Linked DNA regions of Homo sapiens: all the other regions are linked to region 2. The links are contacts of gene promoters, found by promoter capture Hi-C in blood cells and fetal thymus (Javierre and others, 2016). All regions are on one chromosome and are shown on one strand. Each heading gives the region's core, a stretch centred on a gene start or on the middle of the fragment in contact. The rest is flanking DNA. Distances are from core to core; before and after follow the strand shown.

What was found. The method cuts DNA at HindIII sites, captures the fragments that hold promoters and counts their contacts. A CHiCAGO score of 5 or more calls a contact.
Region 1: a fragment that was not itself captured here is called in contact with the fragment with the promoter of ID4 in region 2 in 1 of 17 cell types (endothelial precursors); the score reaches 5.5 in endothelial precursors.
Region 3: a fragment that was not itself captured here is called in contact with the fragment with the promoter of ID4 in region 2 in 1 of 17 cell types (endothelial precursors); the score reaches 5.1 in endothelial precursors.

The regions. Positions count from the first base shown.
Region 1 is chr6:19,006,311-19,010,428 of GRCh38, forward strand. All of the region lies in intron 1 of LOC105374958 (a long non-coding RNA gene), which reads left to right. Among named protein-coding and RNA genes, the nearest start is that of TRQ-CTG1-1, 170 kb to the left of the region's middle. The HindIII fragment of the contact is 275 bases long and covers 2,061-2,335 here.
Region 2 is chr6:19,834,551-19,838,622 of GRCh38, forward strand. It overlaps ID4 (inhibitor of DNA binding 4), which reads left to right and starts at 2,820. Exons shown (of 3, transcript NM_001546.4): 1 at 2,820-3,645; 2 at 4,034-4,072. The coding sequence starts at 3,205. The HindIII fragment of the contact is 2,827 bases long and covers 2,113-4,072 here.
Region 3 is chr6:18,976,475-18,980,834 of GRCh38, forward strand. LOC105374958 (a long non-coding RNA gene) reads left to right here and starts at 639. Exons shown (of 5, transcript XR_001744010.1): 1 at 639-704. The HindIII fragment of the contact is 848 bases long and covers 2,081-2,928 here.

The sequences.
Region 1 (4,118 bases), core at 948-3,447, 830 kb before region 2:
ATTGTCTCTGTTAAATCTTCCCTTGCAGAGTAAATGATATTGTCCTACAAGCACTGATAACACTTTTCCTATCACTGTATTTAATTAATTTATATCACTGTTTCTTCCACTAAAATGAACTCCTCAAGGGGCAAGAACTGCATTTCATTTGCCTTTGTGCCACCAGTACCTTGCACAATTCTTAGCTGAGCAAGAGTTCAACTAGGCCAGGCACAGTGGCTCATGCCTGTGATCCCAACACTTTAGGAGGCCAAGGCAGGAGGATTGCTTGAGCCCAGGAGTTCAAGACCAGCCTGGGCAACATGGCAAGACCCTCTCTCCATGAAAAAAAAAATTAAGAGAAAAAAAATTAGCTGGGTGTGGTGGCATACGCCTCTGGTCCCAACTACTTGAGAATCTGAGGCAGGAGGATTGCTTAAGCCCAGGGGTTCAAGGCGGCAGTGAGCTGTGTTCATGCCACTGCACTCTAGCCTGGGTAACAGAGCAAGATTATCTCAAAAAAAAAAGTTTAACTATTATTTGCCAAATGAATGAATGTGTCCTCATTAGCTAATCTGAACCAATTTATGTACTCAGGCACACTAAATTAGACATAACTTTATATGACTTTCAGGTTTCAGTGTGTCTCAGGGTTACCTGGTATTTAAAATAAACTAAGAGAAAATATAACAAATATACCTTAAAATCCACATCTCAAGAAAAATCTAAGAAACTTCCTATTTCTGCGTTCCCAAGTCTATTGTAGTTTAGTTTAGTGACTCTTGTGTATTCCACCGAACGACTACATCAGGATCATATGCAGTGAAATATCAGATCCCCTGGCCCCAAACCTGAACTCAGAACTTCCGAATCAGAAAAAAGGGGCTTGAATGTACGCATTTCTTACAAGTGTCTGAGATAATACTCATCGACATTGACTTTTGAGATTCACGAGCCTAGAAATGGCCTTTTGAGTCATTCTTTTAAATGAAAGCCCTAGATCTGCAAGCAGAACTATCCTTTGAGGATTATGGCTTTAGCATCTCTCCCTGGCTTTCGTTCCCTCTGGGAGGAGGCAGAGTAGTCTGAAATTAGGCTTCCAGAATTAGAGTAGTCTGAAGGCTTTAGCAGCAGGCTGTTTCAGTTAAAAACATAGAATATGTAAGAATCTAATATATCAGAGCTAAGGATAAAGGGAAGCCTAAAGAGAACTGTGTCCTGTTATTATTACGGAAATCCTCCATATTGGATGCCAATCCAGGTCAAAGTTGATTGACTCCTTAGTTCCTGTCCATCCTAGTTTAACCATTGTGTTTCCACCTGTGGTGACATGGACATGGTCCAGAAACTGACACTTCCAATTCTATTTCAATTTTAAGAACACTTAAAGAGCAGTCCCTGAGGGTCAGGATTGGCCATTCGTGGTAGTCCATATAAAAAGCAAAAGAAGAAGTAAGTGGATTATTTCTTCCCCATCCAGGGCACCATGGCCATCTGGATTGCAGATATACAGGTGTGTGTGTGTGTGTGTGTGTGTGTGTTTGTGTGTGTTTTCTAGAAAGAAAATACTCATTTCTTGTCCCCCTTTTCCCTTCAACAATGTAAGCCATTTTATTCCACCCAGGAGCTTTGTAATGAAAAAGGTCCCTTGTCTTTTGATGACTTCCAATGAATAATGGTTTGTAACACTAAAATGCCAAACTGCAGGGAAATGGAGGGAACTCGGTTGGTTTACAGGTAAGCAAAGTCAGAACTAAGTAAAAACCCTTTAAACTCCTGGGCAGAATGCCAACTAGAAGAATATTTCAGCATCACCTAATTATGATAAGGATTTTTTTATTTCTTCATTATAAATATCTTTCTACACTCACTTTGGCTTCCTGAAGTTTGCATGCTCAGAGATAGGTGAATAACAGCATGAAGAGAGAAAACTGTGCTGCATTTGGAATCAAAGTGTTCAATTATTGGGAGAATGTAGTCCCTGGGACATATGCTGAGGCAGTAAGGGCTGGTCCATTTCCAGATGGAGCTCTTGCACCAAAACCACAGAAGGATTGTGAATTTGATTTCTCATCTAACAAAGCTTCATTTCAAATACAGCTTCCTGAGGATCCTGCTCTGAAACAGATTTACAAGAGAGCCAACAAAGACCGTGTAAAAATAGTTCTAAGCAAAGATCATGTAATAAATGCATAATAATCTCTAGTATCTGTAGACTACCATAATTATCACTAAGTCAAATTACTCAATAATTCCAGACCAATGCTTCCATTGCTATTTGAGGGAAGATACTGATCACAAACGTGACAGTTCTTCTTTGGGGACAGGTCATATCAAGGTGTCAATATTAAGATGAAGCTTCCTTGAAACTTCTCTAATGTTGGAGCGTGATGAGCTTTAGAAAAATGGTGATAAGTAAAAGGGACCTACACTTCCCTACGATATTCAAAAGATCTTCTGAAATTAGCAGATATTAAAGAGTCATGAGCATGAAGGGTATAGTCTAACCCAATACCGGCTGCACAGTTAAATGTGCCTAAAATGTGACATATATCGGTGGTATCAAAATTTCCAGCAAAGGAATAGAGACCCCAGTGCTCGTGAAATCATGAATTGCCCACAGTCAATTCCAGGACGAAATTTACTCACATGGAATGATATTAATATTTGCTCAGAGTAGACTATTAGTTCTCAAAATATTGTGAAAGCAAATATGTCAGAAACACTAGAGGCAATTCTCTGATCACTGACACAATGTTCATCTTAGTAAAGGTATGATAGAACCTGAAATTAATTTTGTTAATTCTATATGTGAAACAAAGATGAGGTGTCTAATATGAGTCCCAGCTGCAGTGAGTTGAGATATAGGCGGGATAATGAATCATCTGATGTCTAATGTACATCATAATCATTATATCACTGGCAGAGCACAGGCAGTGTCTCTCAACCCAGGTAGCCTATGCTGGGGAGTTTTAAAAATATTGATGACTGTGGTTCTCCCCTCTTATTCTTATTATTTAATAAATCTGGGGTATGCCCTGGGAATCAGTATTTTTTAAAGCTCCCCCAGGTGACTGTAATGTACTACCAAGGCCATGTGCCACTAATCACTGGTGTAGGGCATTGTTTCTCAACTTTGTACATGTTAAAAATCACCTGAGAAACTTTATAAATATCCCAATGTAGTCTGTATCCCAATGTAGTCATCCCAGACCAATTAAATCAGAATGAGAAACTTCTAGATATAGGATTAAAAAAAAAGAGTCAGCCTAGGTCATTGCATTTTGCAACCAGGGTTGGGAGTTACAGACAAAGGGTTAGCTTTCTCACAAAGCAAGTTAAATGCATTTTAGTAGCTTTCTAATTTAAAGAATTCTTGCCTGTAAAACATTATTTTGATTGTCAGGAGTCTATCATATATATGTATACGTATTCATTCATACACATACGCTCATGATGGGATTGCATTGAACTTGAATATTTGTATCAGAATTTCAACATCAGAAAATACTGGCAGAAAAGGCACTGGAGTTTCTTTTTTCCTTTTTAATTTGTAAAACTGGGACAGATGATTCTCATCTCAGGTTCTGTGAGTAGAAAATCTTTCCTCCAGGAGATACTGTCATTCAGCTGTTCAAATCCTAACGTGCTTAAAAATTGCTGATGTGCTACTTTTTTTTCTTTCCAAAGGAGTTGGTTATGAAACATCTAAAAATGAAGCATGAAACAAAAGAGAGAGTTAACTTATAATTGCTCTGTTGAAACATTTCGTGCAGATCTTGGCAGATTGGTGAATCCATTTGCAAATCTCGAAATTTGGAAATCAGCAGTTCTTAGGTATACAGAGTCATTATATTCAAGGATTATGTCACTGTATTTGCAAATGCTAAGTGGGTTTTGAACAAATGAAAGATTGAATAAAAGATTAATTAATATTATATGTACCAAACGTATCACTAGGTGCTTCTAAAATCTTTTACTCATGTAACACTGATAAAATTTCTGTGATTCATAATTTTATTATACATGTTTTTAAAATTAAGAAAATGCAAGCTCATAGAAGTTAAGGAATTTTCTCAATATCATACCACTACAAAGTATCAGAGATAGATGATCTCAGATCATCTGCTCCATTGAAG
Region 2 (4,072 bases), core at 1,570-4,069:
GAGGTATATTTTGGGAGTCTCGAGCATTTCCATGACAAAAGGATTTGGGTTAGCCCATTTTACTTTTACAAGTGCAAGTGAAACACTTTGATGTAAAAGAGTCACCAACAGACTAAGTTACCTTCTCTGCACAGTAGAAATAACATAGCTTGTAAGGTTTATCCAAAATCTGAGTGATAATTGGGTAAACTGTTTTGAATTATCAGTGCCAGGAATCTTCCATGATTGCAGCTTTGATGTCATGTAAGTGTCTATGTCTAAGAATACAAAAACATACATTGCATAGCCCCTAGTACTCTCTGGTTTCATGGACCAAAACGTGCAGGATTGTATTCCTTATTCCCATAGTATATGGTAGCACTTTAATTTTTTAATGTCTTCATGCCTTCCAACCTTCAAAACAAGGAGCACAGTAACTGCCTCTGCCTACTCTGCTAGCAGGATTTACGGATCACATCTTTCCTGGGTATTCTTGATCTTGTGGCTGAGGTACATTCCTTTGAAACCACCTCTTCCACCCCACCCCACACAGAGTAACTCAGTCTTTCTAACTTTAAGCCAGTCACACAGAGCATCTCCAACAAAACCTGAAACTTAGGCATTTGGCGCTTGTCACACCCAAGGCATGGCTTTCTGAGATTTAGCAAATTCCAAAAAGGTCGATATGATTCTTCCTTTGTGTTACGTATTCAAAACTTAAATTTTAATTTTAATCGTTAGGATATGTAAAATGTTTAAATGTAAGTGTGTCCTGGGCATATTAGCATAGTTTTATTTTGCCAAACAGAGGAAAGTCTTGGGTTTTGAATTTGGAAGCAAATTTTAAACTCTAGGAAAGAGAAAGATCAATGGAACAAAACATCTGTACATATATCCATTTATTATTATCGTCTGTGCTCATATGACTGGCTCCAAGATAATAGCTTACAACCAGTAGTGCTGGCTTCACCGACTTCCCATTTAAAATTACAACATTTTCTCTGTATTTGCATTAATTTAATGATGTATATGACTATGCCTGTCTTTAGAAGAAAGCCCTTCTGAGTTTCATAATTCTGATTTTCTCGATTAATGTGTATGTAGACCATCTACGTATGCACATAAATAAATGAGAATGGCACTTGTTTCCAAACAATTATTAGAAGCAGTAACATACAAGGATTAGGGGAGAGGAGGGTTATTGCATCTACCTGTGAAACCAGAATTAAATAGTTGCTCCTCATTTCATCAGGAGAAAGGAATGTGCTCTGGGGAATAGTGCGATAGTCATAAAGCACTGACATAGCTAAACAAAATATCTGCCTGGTGCAGGTATTTCAGTTCTGGGAATGGATGTAGAAAAAGTCCATATAGGGGTAGACAGGAAGAAATGAGGTCCATGTCTCTTTCTTTCAATTATCTATGAAAATGAAGACACCAATCCATGTCATGTACACGAATGAAGAAAATTCTTGGGTTAATTCATCTCCAAGCGTGTCTAAAGGTGGGAGGGTTTGTAGAGTGAAGGCACTCAAAATTCATTTCCCCATTGTCTGAGAATTTTTATGCACCTTTCTCATCTGAAGGGCTCAATTTTTTCTTGAAGGGTACACACAATGCTCCACCAAAGCTCATTGTGCAATTTTATTTTGAACCCTTGAAGGACAGCTTTTCTCTAAGAAATCTAACACAAAAACGCCCTTAATTAACAGGCTTTTTTTTGCAGGGTGGGGCCCAAGCGGGATCCCAGAGACTGGAAGTGTGAATTTTAATGCTTTGCTGTCAAAGGAGGCGACTCTGGACATTCTCATCACCTTATTTAAAGCGGGGTACGCTGACTAATACGTGAAGCTGTGCATTAATGGCCTAAATTAAGTTACAGGTATGAATTTTACATAAAACAGATTAATATTATATGTCATAATGGAATTTTAAATATTCCGTGTCCATGCATTTTTAATCTTTACGTGCTCTAATTGAATGCGCAAGGCAACTGCATTTCTTGAGCCCACTTTTGCATTTAGATGGGGTAAAAGAACCCCCCCCACGTTTTTGTTTTATTTATATTCCCTTCACCAAAAACCTGCATTCGATTCGGCATTCTTTTCCTTCTTTTTTTTTCTACTTTTGCTAAGCTTTAGCATTTTTTAAAAAGAAAACGGAAAGGCTACACATTCCATTCCATCATTATGGTTTCGGCAAATGTGAAAAGGCGAATAATGAAACGGAGGAGGGAAATATAGAACAGAATGAACGTGCCTTCTTGAACAGCGCGTCTTTCTTAAGGCACTGGAATCCCACGGATGGAGTGATGGGTGGCGGAGGGTCCCTGGGCGCCGTGCTATTAGGAGTGGCAGGGTATCCGCGAGCAGGGCCCAGGCGCTCCCTCAGCAGCCTAGTCGGGATAAGGGGGGCGGTGGAGAGTGAATTCCGGCCGCACATTCCCGCAGTTCTTCGCAGGAACTTCGCTCTCTCTTTTCCCCTCCCTTGGGCACACATCAGCCTGGCCCGACTCCCACTCAGCTCTCTTTTCTCAGAACCCCGACCCACAGCGTTGACGGAATGGAGTGCCCTTCCCATTGGCCCGAGCGTCATTCCCCGAGGTGGCACTGCCCGCCTGATTGGCTGGCCACTCCAGACCCCCCGCCCACTCCTCCACTCGGGTAGCCGGACTCCCCGCCCCCCAGCACCGCCCGGAGCCCCCGCCCTCGCCTCTCCCTCCGCGCCCCCGCCCGCGCGCCCAGCGGGCTCCGCTCGGCTCGCGCTGCGACCCGGCCCGCGCGCTGGTCCCGCCCCCGGGGCGCACGGCTCTATAAATACAGCTGCGCGGCGGGCCGGGCGAGAGCGTAGTGGAGGAGGCGCGGTTGTGAGTAGTACCGGGAGTGGGGTGATCCCGGGCTAGGGGAGCGCGGCGGCCGCGATCGGGCTTAGTCGGAGCTCCGAAGGGAGTGACTAGGACACCCGGGTGGGCTACTTTTCTTCCGGTGCTTTTGCTTTTTTTTTCCTTTGGGCTCGGGCTGAGTGTCGCCCACTGAGCAAAGATTCCCTCGTAAAACCCAGAGCGACCCTCCCGTCAATTGTTGGGCTCGGGAGTGTCGCGGTGCCCCGAGCGCGCCGGGCGCGGAGGCAAAGGGAGCGGAGCCGGCCGCGGACGGGGCCCGGAGCTTGCCTGCCTCCCTCGCTCGCCCCAGCGGGTTCGCTCGCGTAGAGCGCAGGGCGCGCGCGATGAAGGCGGTGAGCCCGGTGCGCCCCTCGGGCCGCAAGGCGCCGTCGGGCTGCGGCGGCGGGGAGCTGGCGCTGCGCTGCCTGGCCGAGCACGGCCACAGCCTGGGTGGCTCCGCAGCCGCGGCGGCGGCGGCGGCGGCAGCGCGCTGTAAGGCGGCCGAGGCGGCGGCCGACGAGCCGGCGCTGTGCCTGCAGTGCGATATGAACGACTGCTATAGCCGCCTGCGGAGGCTGGTGCCCACCATCCCGCCCAACAAGAAAGTCAGCAAAGTGGAGATCCTGCAGCACGTTATCGACTACATCCTGGACCTGCAGCTGGCGCTGGAGACGCACCCGGCCCTGCTGAGGCAGCCACCACCGCCCGCGCCGCCACACCACCCGGCCGGGACCTGTCCAGCCGCGCCGCCGCGGACCCCGCTCACTGCGCTCAACACCGACCCGGTGAGAGGCCGGGCGCCGGCCGTGGGCGGACGCCGCGGGGGATGGGAGGTTGGTGGCGTGGTGGCGGGACGCGGGCGCTCACCGTCCTCCGGGCAGGGGCGGGCCAGGAATGACAGCCCCCTCCCCCTGCTCCTCCGGGCTCCCCCGGGCCGCCAGCAGCCGGCCGGGCTCGGCGAGCGCGGGTCCGGGAGAACGCGCAGGGCGGGACTCGGGGCTGTGGGCGCCCTGGGCTGTCAAGTCCCGCCTGAGCCCGGAGGGGCCCCCCCGGCTACAGGCTGGGGTGGGGGCGTCGGCGCGCCAGCCTGATTTCCGAGGACAATCCAGGACCGTGTCGAGCGCGTTGTTTGCGCCTGCTAACCTTTCCCTTGGTGTTCGGTTGCTGTTCCAGGCCGGCGCGGTGAACAAGCAGGGCGACAGCATTCTGTGC
Region 3 (4,360 bases), core at 1,255-3,754, 860 kb before region 2:
AAAGTTTCAAGGAATGCGTAGCCCTCATCTATGCTGAAGCAATATATCAAAAAAATTGGCCAGGCACAGTGGCTCATGCCTATAATCTCAGCACATTGGGAGGCCGAGGCAGGCAGATCATGAGGTCAGGGGTTTGGGACCAGCTCGGCCAACATGGTGAAACCATGTGTCTACTAAAGATACAAAAAATTAGCCAGGCATGGTGGCATGTGCCTACAATTCCAGCTACTAGGGAGGCTGAGGAAGGAGAATTGCTTGAATCCGGGAGGTGGAGGTTGCAGTGAGCCGAGATCACAGCATTGCACTCCAGCCTGGGTGACAGGGTGAGAGTTCATCTCCAAAAAAAAAAAAAAAAAAAAAAAAAAAGCGTTAAGAGCAAAGATTTTGGAGCTAGACAAACAAGCTGTGGGACCTTGCACAAATCATTTAGACTCTCTACATTTCAGTTTTCTCATGTATAAAGTGATAATTTTTAAAAATCAGCGGTGGTGTTGTAAGGATTATATGAGGTAAAGAATATAAAACACTCAGCAGAGCACCTGGAAAATAGTCATCACAAATTTTACACCATCATCCTCACCACCGTCATTATTTCATCATAACATAATCTATGAGAATTCCCAGTAGTGCCATGGTAACTTGAGTCTGAGTTTGCAAAGTGAAAGTTTCCTGGAGATGGAAAAACACAAGAGCTGCCTCAGATGGTAAGATTACCTTGGGTCTCCTACTGTTACCATCACACACACCAAAAGGAGACCCTTGCTAGGCAAAACTTGCAATGAGTGGAAAGCAGTGGTAACAGCACTTAATAGCCACTCTGCTACAGTTATTTCCCTTGGGCTGCAGTATGTGTGATTCATAACATAATGCATATAAACTCTCCCAACAGTGAAAAAGCCCTATTTGGGCATCTGATGATCCATGAATTGAACCAAAGAAGTAACGATATAATCAGCCTGTAAAATGACCAACCCATTTTAAGAACTAAAAATCTATTTTTTAAGCAGAACTGAAACCCATCAACTCTTTACTGGTGTCCAGATTAATTTGCAGCTACAGAAATCTGTGGACAATGATAATAATTTCTTCAAGACCACAGAAAGAAATAAAAAGAAAGCCTTATAAATAAGAAAACCTTACAAATGAGAATGTTCAGAAAGTGCTTTACTCAATGTCTTTATGCAAACTGCGCTAATTAATCTCATACAAACATGGATATTTTTGTAAAGCATAAGCCCAAGTGCCATTTTATGACCATATAATTTACAAGTCCTCAAATTACATTAAAATCACCACACACAGTGTTTACAGTTTAATTGCATGGTTATTTACCATTCCCAATCAAGTGTTATTCATTCAGTACCTCTTTGCCTGATCTTACCTAAAAAAGAAGACACTTTTATGCTGGATTTGAGTGGTAAACATTCAAACATGGTAATACTCAAAGGCAACAAAGATGTGATTTGGAGTAAACAAATTCCATTGACAGAGATTTCAGAGAATGTCCAGGGAGAAAGAATGAAAAGAGATCAACATTTACTAAAATAACATTTCTTTGATTGTTTCAGTTCTACTGAAAAAAGGAAACTTCACTATCTACTGCCCAATATTTATGTAAAGCCAGCTAGGACTATTATCCATATTTTACATTATAAAAACATAGTTCTTCAGTCAAGAAATGTTTATTAAGTGCCATACACATTCCAGATTCTGGGGTAAGAGTAAAGTGTAAAAATAAATAAAGCATGGCCCTTTGATGAACCCACAGATTAGATAACCACTAAGTGTGTTATAGGCATTTCCACAGTTAAGAAATATTTACTACTTATCATCCTTTTGTCACTAAACAATACCATCCTGAAATTAGAAAATCTCACTACCTACCACCATAGAATATCTGTCTTCAGGAAACTTTCTAAGGCTTAGTTTGTAAAACATGGAGGTGGGGAACATAATAGTACCAATTTTCCTTCAATGGTAATATGATTGTAAAGGCTGAGTAAGACTAAAAACTCTCTACAGATTCCTTCTTTGGGATCTGCCTCTGTAGCTGACTTACATTCCTACCCAGGCAAACTGAAGCTTTATTTGCTTTCCTACGTTGCCTAGCAACTCACAATGCCTCACACCCCTGTTAGGATACTAGACAGTTATATCAGGAAACAGTTATTAGATAAATTAACTAGAATGACCCTTAATTCCTAGGATATAACTTTGAATTTTGTCTTTGGGGAGCTAAAATTTTTAATAAAGTGGTCCTCATTATGAAGTCCTCGGACCACCTGCATTTACATTTTATCACATTTTGAAATAGTCTTAGGGAATAGACATTATTATCCATATTTTCAATGTGAAAAATTGTTAAATCAGTTAAATAACTTTCTAAAATTTAAATGATTAGAAACTGGGATTCAAACTGATATCTGCCTGTTTGTCCAGCACATAACCTTTGTACTACATCCTGTCACCTTTGGAAAAGTCAGTTTTAACATGTTGATGATTAATCTAATTTCCCAATTAATTGCTCAATTTTCATTAGGCCTCAGCACTTACGTAGATGCTAATATGTTTTATTCAATATTAAATCACAAAAAAAATCTGTAGACCATATACAGCATGCATGTAATTCATATCTATACAACCACACACATTTTCCTTTAGGGAACTAAGAATGATACATGTAAAATGGTATTTATGTTCTTCATTGCCAATTTTCAAAACAGTGTCACCTTCTGCCTGTAACACATGCAAGTGAAATGTAGCAAACTAAGGTGATTACCTTTGGAAATTGTTGGCCCTAAGATATAGATATTTAAATGACTTTCAATCTGGAAAGTGCATTAAACATATGACCTGTCATTACCATCCAACAATTATCCAAATGGAATCTGAAATATAAAATTATTTCAAATGCTAAGGCTTTGGAGAAGCTTTGGAAAGATATGCGTAGAGGAATATAAGTCCATTTTGTGCAGTGAATTTTGATAATTGAGTCAAGAATGTAGTTACAAATTCTATATCTCCTACTTTATATCTGGCTCTAAATCAAAGAAACTAAGTACAAAATGAGAGCATAGGATTTAGAGACTGGCATAAAACTGGAAGAAAATAAAACACAATAGGCACAGGCCTCACAGTTTTTGTGGAATATCAGTAACTGAGGATTTTCTTTGGGCTCTGGCTGTGGAATATTAGATATCCATACATCCACTGGGAAGTTATTTAGTTGGTAGCCCTTTAGATGATACATGTATTATAAAGCATGCATGTTTCAAACATGTACATGATGGCTAAAATACAAGATAAGTATTAATATTAAAAAATCCACAAAAGATTTTTAAGGATGTAATTTTTTTCTAAGTATGTGTTATCAAGTGGAATTTGTGGATAAGCTGTTGTAGATCATGATTGGAACATGTCATTATTAAAGAGTGATTAATATTTTAACCCAGTAAAGGAAAATTACAATTAAAGTTTTCAGAGCTGGAACACCTTAGAGGTGATCTTTTCTGACTCTTTGATTTCACAAGTTAGGAAACAGATTCAGGAAATTAAATGATTTGTCTAATGTCATTCGGCTAATAGATGGAGGAAGAGATGGCGCTTGAATGATCTTTCTGGAAGAACATTCTTTCAAGTTCACATTTTTCATTTAAATGAGTAAATAAAAGAAACAAAACAGCTTTTGTCAAAACTAAATTTAAAAACTACAATTACTTACAAAAAAGTCTTTTTGAATCCATACTGTATGCTATATGAATAGATATATCCCCCCAAATTTTACTGGATGTTAAATGGCTAAATTTCTACCTCTCATATTGAACATTACCTTGTATATGTAGAGTACTGCACCGTTAGAGCAGAGAAAACAGAAGTTAATACAAATTGTGTTTTTCAAAGATCATACAGTAAGTGAAAAAGCTAGAGCTTCTATTTAGGACCTTGTGATTCTAGAACACACATCCTTTCTGCCTGGCTATGCTACCTTTCACTGAGATGGACTAGGAGAACAAGACACTTATAACACAGATCCAGCTAACAAAGTGATAATTTAAAAAAACATACACAGAGAAAACAAAGAAAAATAGAAAGTGAGAAAAGAGCTGGGGTAAACATAGAAGATAGAGAGAATGATCCAAATGAAACATAATAGGCTTTGTCTTTATCATCAAACATTTTGTCATCATATAAGTATAATTCATTTGAAGAATCTCAGTGTTGTGCAAAAATGTAGAATATTATAATCAACTTAGGAATTATCGTAATAAAACCCCTAGGAAAAATTACAATTAACTTGAGTCAATTAGATTTCTCAAGGATCCTTGACTCTAGCTCTGGCTAACAGGATTCCTAATGAGAC